2 separate regions of the Homo sapiens genome follow, and region 2 is linked to region 1. The links are contacts of gene promoters, found by promoter capture Hi-C in human tissues and cell types (Jung and others, 2019). All regions are on one chromosome and are shown on one strand. Each heading gives the region's core, a stretch centred on a gene start or on the middle of the fragment in contact. The rest is flanking DNA. Distances are from core to core; before and after follow the strand shown.

The links. Contacts are between HindIII fragments. The study calls those that stand out against the background at their distance.
Region 2: a fragment that was not itself captured here is called in contact with the fragment with the promoter of BCL6B in region 1 in 2 of the 25 tissues and cell types used here (bladder and heart right ventricle).

Annotation. Positions count from the first base shown.
Region 1 is chr17:7,020,465-7,026,207 of GRCh38, reverse strand. BCL6B (BCL6B transcription repressor) reads right to left here and starts at 3,158. Exons shown (of 9, transcript NM_181844.4): 1 at 3,109-3,158; 2 at 2,358-2,548; 3 at 1,904-2,125; 4 at 1,445-1,807; 5 at 1,008-1,132. The coding sequence starts at 2,536. RefSeq lists a silencer at 4,065-4,204. The HindIII fragment of the contact is 11,810 bases long and covers 1-5,743 here.
Region 2 is chr17:7,163,930-7,169,672 of GRCh38, reverse strand. LOC124903911 (a long non-coding RNA gene) reads right to left here and starts at 604. Exons shown (of 2, transcript XR_007065601.1): 1 at 488-604. The HindIII fragment of the contact is 4,369 bases long and covers 692-5,060 here.

The sequences.
Region 1 (5,743 bases), core at 1,909-4,408:
TGGCTCACGACTGTAATCCCAGCACTTTGGGAGGCCGAGGCGGTCGGATCACAAGGTCAAGAGATGGAGACCATCCTGGCCAACATGGTGAAACCTCGTCTCTACTAAAAATACAAAAAGTAGCTGGGTGTGGTGGCACGTGCCTGTAGTCCCAGCTACTCGGGAAGCTGAGGCAGGAGAATCGCTTGAACCTGGGATGTGGAGGTTGTAGTGAACCGAGATTGCGGCACTGCACTTCAGCCTGGCCACAGAGTGAGACTCCGTCTCAAAAAAATAAATAAATAAAATAAAAGCAGTGGTGGTAGGTGGAGGCCCCTGCTAGTGGGAGGAGTTTTGTTTCTCCTCCTGTTTTTTTTTTTTTTTTTTTTTTTGAGACAGAGTCTTGCTGTGTTGCCTATGCTGGAGTGCAGTGGTGTGATCTCGGCTCACTGCAATCTCCACCTCCCGGGTTCAGACGATCCTTCCACTTTAGCTTCCTGAGTAGCTGGGACTACAGGTGTGCACCACCGTGCCCGGCTAATTTTCATTTTTATTTTTTGTAGAGACCACATCTGACTATGTTGCCCAGGCTGGCCTTGAGCTCTTGGATTCAAGTGATCCTCCTGCACTGGCCTCCCAAAGTGCTGGCATTACAGGCATGAGCCACCATGCTTGGCTAAAATCTCCTCCTCACTTGCACCACTCTGAATGACAGCCTGCCAGAGAGGCCCTGACAAGCTTTGGGCTGACCATTCAGCTCTGAAAGGGGATAGGCCAGAAATTCTCAAACTTTGCTGCTCATTGGAAGCACTGGGAGAGCTTTAGAAAAATACTGATGACTCGTCCCATGTCCAGATATTTTAATCTATGGAGTGTGACCTGGGCAGTGGGAGTTTAAAAGCTTCCTAGGTGATTCTAATTTGTAATAAAGTTTAGGAACCATTGGAATAGGCCTTTCTGGGAGAGTTTTTGGCACAAACTTGCCTGGAGCAGTCACGGGAGAAAAGCCAAGAAAGAGGGGCTCTTACCCGGTAGTGGACGAGCCCGTTCAGAGGGTGATCCAGAGGTGTCTTGAGCCTGGGATGTGAGGAGGTAGGGGGTACTGGCTGGAGCCCCACATTTGAACTGCACAGTGGCAGCAGTTGGAGAGAGCCTAGGCAGATGGCAAGGAAAGGGTTAAAAGAGATTGTACGGTTGAGGGGTGGGGGTTCTCTCCTGGGAAATTTGGAGCCAAAGGCCTGCCCTCTCAGGGTGAGCCAATATTGTTGACCAATGAGCCACATCCATTGTACTGCCCAAGTGCCACCCTGCTGAATAAACCTGGTCTCTGGCCAGCTCCTTAAGGTGAGCTAGTGTCTCTGAAACCCACCACCTATCTCCCTTCCTCCTGACCATCAAGGCCCAATGACTCTGTCTTCTAGCTGAGGCCAGCTCTGACAAATTCTTGAGGTTCTAGACTCTGTACCTGCTCTGGGGACCAGGAATGGGTCCTTCTTCACTGCTGCTGCTGCTGCTGCTGCTGCTGCTGGAGGCCTCGTCTCCACTGGGGAGCCTGGCTTGGGGGCAAGGTTGACCAGAACTTCTCTCCCCGACCAGGCTCCCTGCTTGGGAGGCCTGAGAGTTTAGCACGATGTACTTGTACTTTTTCCAGTTGCAGGCCTTGGGGTCAGGGCTGGCTGGACTGGGGGGGCCTTGACTGCAGCTTCGAGATTCAGTAGGTGGGTCTGGGTGTCCTTCGGAGCGCCTGGGACTACCTGGTGGAGGGGCCGTTGGGGGTGTTGGGGGTTCTGCTTCCAGGGGGCGCAGGGAGATGCCCAGAGGTTCATAGCTGGGGAAAGTGTGATGAACGTTAGTGCCATTTCCTAAACTCTGCCTTTGCCCTTAACACCTCACCCACAGAGAACGCCGAGCCAGGGTCCCTCACCTGGCCTGGATGAAGCGGTGGCATGCCTGGACCACGTGCTCCATCTGCAAATAGGTGGCGGCCGCTAGGACTGCTGGTGCAGTGGCTGGAGAGAGGCGCAGGCGCGAAGTGTACATGAAGTCCAATAGAGGGGCGAAGCCTCTCGCTTCGGGACCCCCGGGCAGAGAGAGCACGTCCACCCCGACTCCCGCACGGCCCCGGAAAATTGAATAGAAGAAGCCACTAGAGAGAGAGCAGATAAGTCCTTTGGGGGCTGGGGAACCAAGGGAGACATGCGCAGCTTCAGGAAGCCCCGCCCCCTGAAAAAGTCCCGCCTCCTCACTATCACCCCGCCCCCAATTCTGGGACGCTCCGCCTCCTGCTTCTGAAAGACTTGGCTTCGGATTCCCTCTCAACGGCCCTGTGGTCCCACCCCTTTCCCATTTGGCCCCGCCCCAGGCCCCACCCCTCGAACCTGCAGGCGATGAGAACTGCCTTGTGTGCTCTGAGGGGTTGCCCGCCAACCAGCAGCGTGACGTCAGTGAGGATCCCGCGCAGGCGCAGCTCGTTGAGGTTGCCCAGCACGTCGGAGGAGTGGCGAGTGAACTCGCGGACGTAGCCCAGCGCTCCCTCCGGGGCGGCGGGGGAACCCATAGCGACACAGGCCTGTAGAGGCCGTGGAAAGTGCTCTGGATCCAGGCAGTCCTAAGACGCCTTCCCTCCTCTGTTTGCCTTTTCCTTCCGAGGTGCAACTAGAGCCAGGACTTCCAGCCCCTAGCCCCGGCACACGCAGCCTCCCTCCTAATTCTTCTTGTTCATTCTGCCCTCTACGACACCCTCGCTCCCTTGCCTCTTCCAGATCCCACAGCGCTTGGAGCCAGTTGAAGGTTCCACACCGCGGCGTCGTTGGCGAGCGTGGGGAATCCCGCGCCCATCGCCCTGGGTTCGACCCCCAGTGCCCCTCCAGCACCGCCACTCCCCTCTGCGCGCCTGTGTCTCAGGTGTCCAACCCTGCCTCGAGATCTCACGGCCTGCCGTCCACACACCTCCAAATCCCAGCCGAGGCTCCCTTCCCCGAACTACGGAATTCTGCGACTCCTATCTAGTCCCCAATCCCTAGTTTAGCCCAATTTCTGGGACTCAGGCTCGCTGATGGCAAGCTCCACACAAGCTCCTACCCTCTTGGGGGACCCAGGAGTCTGGCTCCCTCAGTCTCTTGTTCTTACCCCCGTCCTGCAGGGGCCGCGGCTTCTCTTCTTAAGGGGGGCGGGGTCTCTCTCCCCTCTTGGCCTCGGCTCCTTTATCTGGCCGGGATGTCGGGGGCGGGGGTGGAGGTGGGGTGAACGCCTGGGTCTGTATCCTTCCTTCCTCCCTCGCTCTCCAGATGGCGAGTCCAGGGCGGGGTCTCCGTCTCGAGGGCGGGACCTCAGAAACAAGGGGTGGTCGTAACGTAGGGGGTCTTGGGTCACTGCAAGTGGACACGAGGACGGGGATATTGGAATTGGGGAGGAGGTTAGGGATATCGAGGTTGGCAATACGGGAGTCTGAGTCGTCGGAAGGCCTGGGCCAGTGAAAATTGGTGTGTTGGCTTTTGGGAGGGTTTGCCAGGAGCCAACCTTTGCTGCAGGACAAAGTGCATACGGCAACCCCCTCTCCCTCTCTTGTACTGTGTTAAGGGAGAAAAGGGGGAGCCCAACGAGACAGCAGGTTTGGGCAGACGACAGTGGGCTCCCGTAGGGTCTCAGACGGGGAGGGTGTGGTGTGAATGACAGGCTACTCTACCCGGGCCTACAAAAAGGGGGGCTCTGGCCGGGCGGGGTACGGAGAGGGCGGATATGATTTCTAGTTGGTTTCCTTCCATTGTCCTGCGACCGGACGGCTCCGCCAGCTGCTTCCCCTCGAGGAGGTGGGGAAAGCCCCGAGGTGGGGGTGGAGGGGCGAGAGACGCTCGGGAGACCTAGGCGTCCGGCCTCTCTCGCTCCCGACTCTCTTCTGGGTCCTTGTAGGGATCCAGAGAGATGGACTCCCGCCCAAAGCCCGCTTGCTTTCCCCCAATCCCAGCTCACGAGGGCCTCGGGCACCCGCCCGTCGGCTACGCTTGGAGGCTGGCGGGACGCCGGGGTCCAGCGCGGCAAGTAGGCAAGGCTCGGCAATGTGCGGCTCCTTCCACGAGGGGGCGGCCGAGCACTGGCCTCGCCTCGCCCCTCGTCTCCACCCGGCCTGGGGTGCGCTCAGACCCGGGCGCAGGATCCATTTGGTCTGGGCGGCTGAAACCTTTAGCCTCCTCCCCTTTGCGCGGGTTTATTTTGCACCTCTGTCTCCTAGGAGGGGACTAGGGCTGGGCGGAGGGAGCTAGAGTTAGGAGACCGAGGGGACTTTCCCCTCAGGCTGGGGTTCCTACCCGAGGTGAGAAATCGCGGGCTTTAGGAGCCAGGGGAATGGGTGGGACAAGAAGCGGGACCTGAGCCTGGGAACTCCGGGTTTTCTTTTCGAATTAAGCTAGACACTGCTACCCAGATGTCTTTGGAGGTGACTTTTAATTGAACATTAAAATTGGGTGGGGTAAACGAGAAGGGAAAACAAGGAGGAGGGAGAGAGGGCAGGAGGGGGCTTAACCACCCTAATTTGAAGTCCCTGATCTGAGAGATGGGCATGGATCACACCCTCATATTTTGTTTCGGGAGACATTGCGGGCAGGCAAGGCAAAGCTCATTTGGAGAAGGGGTGCTAGAGCTGAATCCAGCTGCAAGGCAGAAGCTCCCCGGATTTGGGCTGGGGAGAGTGTACAGTTGGCCAGGAATGGCCGACCATGGTCCACGGGGCTGGATATCAGGCCCGGGGCCCTCCCCTTCAGACCGGAGTGTGTCTTTATTTGAATGCATGAAAGAACAGCTGAGAAACCGGGAACTGGGAAATTCAGGACGATGAGGTGGCTTTGACATGTGAGGGTTATTTAGGTCTCTGCCCAGCTTGGAGATGAGAATTAGACTAGGGGCTCTCCCTTTGGCATCAGGATGGAGTATTATTTGATCAGTTGTGGGGTGTCTGTTTATTATGGGGTGTTGATTTGATTGTGAGCACCGGTGGCTGCATTCAGCCTTTGAGGCCTATATGGTAAGTTTCAGGTATGGGGCTGACTTGGAAGTTACATTAGTTCTGGGGGTTCTGACACCCACAATTTGGAGATTGTGCTCACCTGTGTCATCTTGGACTATCAGCAGAACCAAAGTACTCATGCTGATTTGGGGGTGCAGTCTATTTTGGGGTGCCATCTAAGTTTCAAGGCTCAGATTAGATTTGGGGAATAAGTTCAATTTGGAGTTTTAAAAATTAGTTTGAGGTGGAACATTATAGGAAGCTGGGAGCAAGTTCGAAGCTTTCTGTGATTGGGGGTCCTGGGAGGGGGGAGCAAACTTTTATATTTGAGTCTTGTGGACACTCACGTTCCACAAAGTGGAAAGACGTGGGGTATTCCTGTGTATCCATGGATACCCAAGAAGCTTTTTCCCCAGGGGAGAAACAAGGTGAGGGCCGCGAGGACAGGAGACTAAAGTTCTGGGGTGTTCTTATTTTGGGGGTGTTTTGTCACTCTGGCTGCTTTTGGTGAAGCTAAGGGATAATCATAAGGTGAGACTGATTTGGGAGTTCACTTAATTTGGACCCTGGTTTGGGATGTCTTTTGCTTATAGTGCCCTCTCACCCCAGATTCTAGAAGTTTCTTTAGTGAACCCCCAAATAAGCCCAGGATTTGAAGGGAGAAACTTGGAAAGGGTGTGGTATCTCCTTTTATTATTATGTGGCTTGAGGGAGAAGAGAGGGAGAAAAGGCGGTTTCAGACTCTGAATCCCAATTTCTTAAGGG
Region 2 (5,743 bases), core at 1,627-4,126, 140 kb before region 1:
AAGACACACACAAGATAGTGAAAGCTGGGTCCAGGGGCGTCACCGCCTTTTGGTCCTGTGATGCCGCCAATGCACTGGATATACCAGCATTTGTTATGAAGTTTAGTGAGGGTGGGGGTAGGTTAGTGAGGGATTTAGGGTCGTTTGATTATGAGGTGAGATGGTCACATTGGGGATGAAGTAATTCTTTAACATAACATCAGTATGCAGAAGTACAGTGTACAGAGATAAGAATATACAATATAGTGTGTGCGTCAGCAATTTCTAACAGAGCCTTAAAACAGAAACACAGTCTATCCCTAACCTATGATTAGCAAGATATTAATCAGCAGTAACAGTTGCAGCAAAAGCTGGTTACAAACAATCCATAGAAACAGGATGTGAAGCTAGACAACCAGTTAGACCAAAAATTCTCAGAAGGGAGTATGCCTTAACCCTAAAGAGGCCTAGAAGAGCCGTGGCAAGATAAGGGCATTTATAACCCTACCTTATCCATATGAACAGGTGCCCTTCATGCGTCCGTTTATAGGCTCTCCACAAGGGTCGCATTCCACTCCCAGAGCTATGAACATCTGCTTTTCTGGGATAGGAATCTGGGAGATATGAAACCTCCCTGACTGCATGTCCGTTTATAGGCTTTCTGCAGGGGGAAGCACATCATGCGCTGTTGGCTCATTCTGGCAGCCCAACCTGGCATTGTCTTTACACAATTCTGCATGCAATTTTGTATTTACAATAATTAGGAGCATTTCATCTTTATTCCATAGCAATAGTTTTAGGGGGTCTCCCTACACTGGTCTTGAACTCCTGACCTTATGATCCACCCGCCTCGGCCTCCCAAAGTGCTGGGAATGCAGGCATGAGCCACCATGCTCAGCCAATTTTTGTGTTTTTAGTAGAGATGGGGTTTTGCCATGTTGGCCAAGCTGGTCTCGAACTCCTGGCCTCAAGTGATCCGCCTGCTTGGATCCGCCCTCAAGTATTGGGATTACAGGCACGAGACACCATGCCCGGCCTAAAATTCTTTTATCAGATATTAGCCTATCAAATCAAATGCAGCATTAAAAAAGATAACATGGCCAGGTGTGGTGGCTCACGCCTGTAATCCCAGCACTTTGAGAGGCCGAGGTGGGAAGATAATGAGGTCAGGAGATTGAGACCATCCTGGCTAACATGGTGAAACCCCGTCTCTACTAAAAATACAAAAAATTAGCCGGGTGTGGTGGCGGGTGCCTGTAGTCCCAGCTACTCAGGAGGCTGAGGCAGGAGAATGGCGTGAACCCGGGAGGCAGAGCTTGCAGTGAGCCGAGATCGCGCCACTGCACTCCAGCCTGGGCGATAGAGCCAGACTCATCTCAAAAACAAAAAACAAGAACAAAAACAAAAAACAAAAAATAAAAAATAAAAAAGGTAACATGTTCAAGTAGTATAGATGCCAAGAATTCAAAGATGATTTAACATAAGAAAAATCTGTTAATATAATAGATTTAGAGAGTACAGAAAAATAGATTAAATGTGTACAAAAGAAAACAATTACACAATGCAGAAAAAACACTCAGCAAAAGTTCAGCTCTGATTTATGATGAAATCTTTCTGGACTCTAGCTGTTTCTACGTTGTTGCTCCATCGTTTCAATCTGTGGCTTCCATCACATGTTCCAAGATGTCTGCCCCTCCTGTTATGACACATTCCGGACAAGAGAAAGGGGAAAAGGGAAGGAGAATGGCGCATTCTCTCTCTGTCTATGCAGACACTTCCATCACTTCACTTTATATCTCTTTGATCAGAATTAGTCCCAGGGCCACAGATAGCTGCAAATGGGGCTGAGAAATGAACTTTATTCCATGAGGCCACATTCTTGCTAAAAACACAGGATTCTATTTTGTAGAGAAGGAGTCAGTAAACTTTGGCCCTCACCTGCTTCTGTAAATAAAGCTTTCTTTTTCTATTTTTTTTTTTTTTTCTGAGACGGAGTCTCTCTCCGTTGCCCAGGTTGAAGTGCAATGGCACAATCTCGGCTCACTGTAACCTCTACCTCTCAGGTTCAAGCAGTTCTCGTGCCTCAGCCTCCCAAGTAGCTGGGATTACAGACGTGCACCACTATGCCCGGCTAATGTTTTGTATTTTTTCTTTTTTTTTTTTTTTTAGTACAGACGGGGTTTCACCATGTTCGCCAGACTGTTCTCGAACTCCTGGCCTCAGGTGATCTGCCCATCTCAGCCTCCCAAAGTGTTGGGATTACAGGTGTGAGCCACCACACCTGGCCAGTTTTTTTTTTTTTTTTTTTTTTTTTTTTTTGCAACAAGGTCTGGCTCTGTCGCCCAGGCTGGAGTGCAGCGGCGTGATCTTGACTCACTGCAGCCTCTGGATCTTGACTCACTGCAGCCTCTGCCTTCCAGGCTCAAGTGATCCTCTTGCCTCAGCCTCCCAAGTAGCTGGGATTACAGGCGCAAGCCACCATACCCTGCTAATTTTTGTATTTTTTTGTAGAGACGGGGTTTCACCATGTTGCTCAGGCTGGTCTTGAACTCCTGTGCTCAAGTGATCTACCCGCCTTCGCCTCCAAAGTGCTGGGTTACAGGAATGAGCCACGGATCCCGGCCTGTAAATAAAGTTTTATCGGAACACAGCCATGCCTGTTTGTTTACATGTCATTTATGACCACAGCAACAGCAGAATTGAGTAGTTATGATAAAGACTGTATGACCTGGTAAGCCTAAAATACTTGCTATCTGGCCCTTTATAGGAGATGTTTCTGGACCTCTGGTGTAGCAAGAAGGGGATAATTGGTATTAGGGGTAATTAGAAGCCTCCGTTATAGTGCTATTATTGCTGTTCAGCATCATCCTGGGCATGGTAGCCAAACTGCACAAGACAGAAAAAGACATTAAAAGTTGTAAGAATTGGAAAGGAAGAGATAAAACAATATGCTCACCTATACAGAAAATCAACACCATCAACAAACAAACAAACAATTCGACCTAATAAGAGGCTTCGGCAGGTGTATTAGTCTATCACCACAATAACACATGAAGAACATACAAGAAGAAACTTAAATTCTTTCCAAATTAACATATACATTCAACGCAATAAAAATAAAATTTCAATTGATTTTCTTTTTGAGATGGATTCTCCCTCTGTCACCCAGGTGGGAGTACAATGGTGTAATCTCACCTCACTGCAACCTCCGCCTCCAGGTTCAAGCGATTCTCCTGCCTCAGCCTCTCAAGTAGCTGGGAGTACAGGTGCCCGCCACCACGTCCAGCTAATTTTTGTATTTTTAGTAGAGATGGGGTTTCACCGTGTTGGCCAGACTGGTCTTGAACTCCTGACCTCAAGTGATCCACCTGCCTCAAACTCCCAAAGTGCTGGGATTAGAGGAGTGAGCCACTGCGCCCGACCTCAATTGGATTTTTAAAAGCAATGCAACAACTTTAAAAAAAATATATGTGGCAAGATAAAAGTCAATATGGGAAAAAAAGGAGAAATTGGAGGAAGGGGGAACTAGCCTTATTAGACTTTAAAATATATTACAAAGCCATAGTAATAAAAATAGCACAGTAATGATACAAGAATAGACGGATAAACCAATGTTATAGAATAAAGAGCCGAGAGACAGAACTGTGCCTACATGGGAACTTAATATACAATAAAGGTAACATCTCAAATTGGTAGAAGAAAGACATTATTGGGAAAACTGGCTCACTCTATGAAGATAAGTAAAACTGGATTCATACCTAACATCACAGGCAAAGGTGGATGTTGGATAGATTGAAGACCTAAACATATAACATAAAATTACAGAACTAGTAGGAAAAAAGAAAGAAAGAAAAATCTATACTACTAAGAGTATAGAAGGGTTTCTTCTTCTTCTTTTTTTTTTTTTTGAGACAGAGTCTTGCTCTGTCGTCAGGCTGGAGAGCAGTGGCGTGATCTTGGCTCACTGCAACCTCTGCCTCCCAGGTTCAAGCAATTCCCCTTCTTAGCCTCCTGAGTAGCTGGGAATACAGGCATGCGCCACCACGCCCAGCTAATTTTTCGAATTTTAGTAGAGACGGGGTTTCACCCTGTTGGCCAGGCTGGTCTCCATCTCCTGACCTCATGATCCACCCACCTTGGCCTCCCAAAGTGCTGGGATTACAGGTGTGAGCCATCGCGCCCGGCTGAAGAGCTTGTTAAATAAGGCCTCCGAAGCACATTCCAAAAAGCCAAAAAAAATTTGTGAAATTGCATGAAAATGATAAATTTCAGTTCAACAGCAATGTATCAGGTAGGCTCCCAGCAAGCAACAGATGGCACACCCAAAAATGGGTAAGTGCAAGATTTCATAATATAGGGACTCTCTGCAAAGGTGTGAACAGGCTTAGGGAAGCCACAAGATGGAGCAAGAACCTAGGCATCCCAGAGTGGGGAGCTGTTACCACCTCCAGGACCGCAGGGAGAGGGCCTCCCAACAGGAGCTGTGATACTCAGTTGCAGGGGGCAGCTAACCCACAGCCACTCTACAGGGAGGGGCCGGGGAGTTAATATCCTCACTTCCCTCTCTTCCTGGAAGAGGGCTGGAAGCCAGATGGCAAGGGAGCGATTTGATGCAGTCATACAGCTCAGCCTCCCAGGCCACAGAACAACATGGAGAAGGATAGAGTGTGGATCTGGAAGGACAAATGGAAGACATTCAACACAGAAGGAGACCAAGATGAAGAAATACACAGGAAACCTATTGGAAAAGTGGCATCAGGTATAAACAAGCAGTTCACAGATGAGGAAGCCTGGGGTTCTAATGTGCATATGAAGACATGTTTACAATCACTAGTGACTAACTAGAGAAATCAAACACGAGTGAGCCATCTGTTTACACCCATCCAATTGACAAACATTAAGAGGAAGTCAATTGCTGCCAAGGTTGTGGGAGAAGCTGCTGATGGGAGGATAAATTGGAATAGCCATTCTGCAAGATATTTACTGGAATTAAGAATACATAGTATCAGGACGGGCACGATGGCTCACGCCTGTAATCCCAGCACTTTGGGAGGCCGAGGCGGGTGAATCATGAGGTCAGGAGTTCGAGACCAGCCTGACCAACATGATGAAATCCTGTCTCTACTAAAAATACCAAAATAAGCCGGGCATGGTGGCGTGCGCCTGTAATCCCAGCTACTCAGGAGGCTGAGGCAGTAGAATCGCTTGAATTCGGGAGGTGGAGGTTGCAGTGAGCCGAGATCGAGCCATTGCACTCCAGCCTGGGCAACAGAGGGAGACTTTGTCTAAAAAAAAAAAAAAATGCATATTATCGGCCGGGCATGGTGGCTCATGCCTGTAATCCCAGCACTTTGGGAGGCCGAGGTGGGTGGATCACTTCAGGTCAAGAGTTCTAGACCAGCCTGGTCAACACAGTGAAACCCCGTCTCTACTAAAAATACAACAGTAACAACAAAAATTAGCTGGACTTGGGGGCGGGCACCTGTAATCCTTGCCACTTGGGAGGCTGAGACAGGAGAATCGCTTGAACCCAGGAAGCAGAGATTGCAGTGAGCCAAGATTGTGCCATTGCACTCCAGTCTGGGTGACAAGAGTGAAACTCCGTCTCGAAAAAAAAAAAAAGATGATCCCTGAAAATCCTACTTCCAGATACATACACCAGAGAGAATCTCTGACAGGTCCATTATGGGGCACTGTGAAGATGTTCACTGCAGTGCTGTTTGGGTAGCAAGGAGCTGGAGGCAGCCTGGGTGCCTACTGAGAG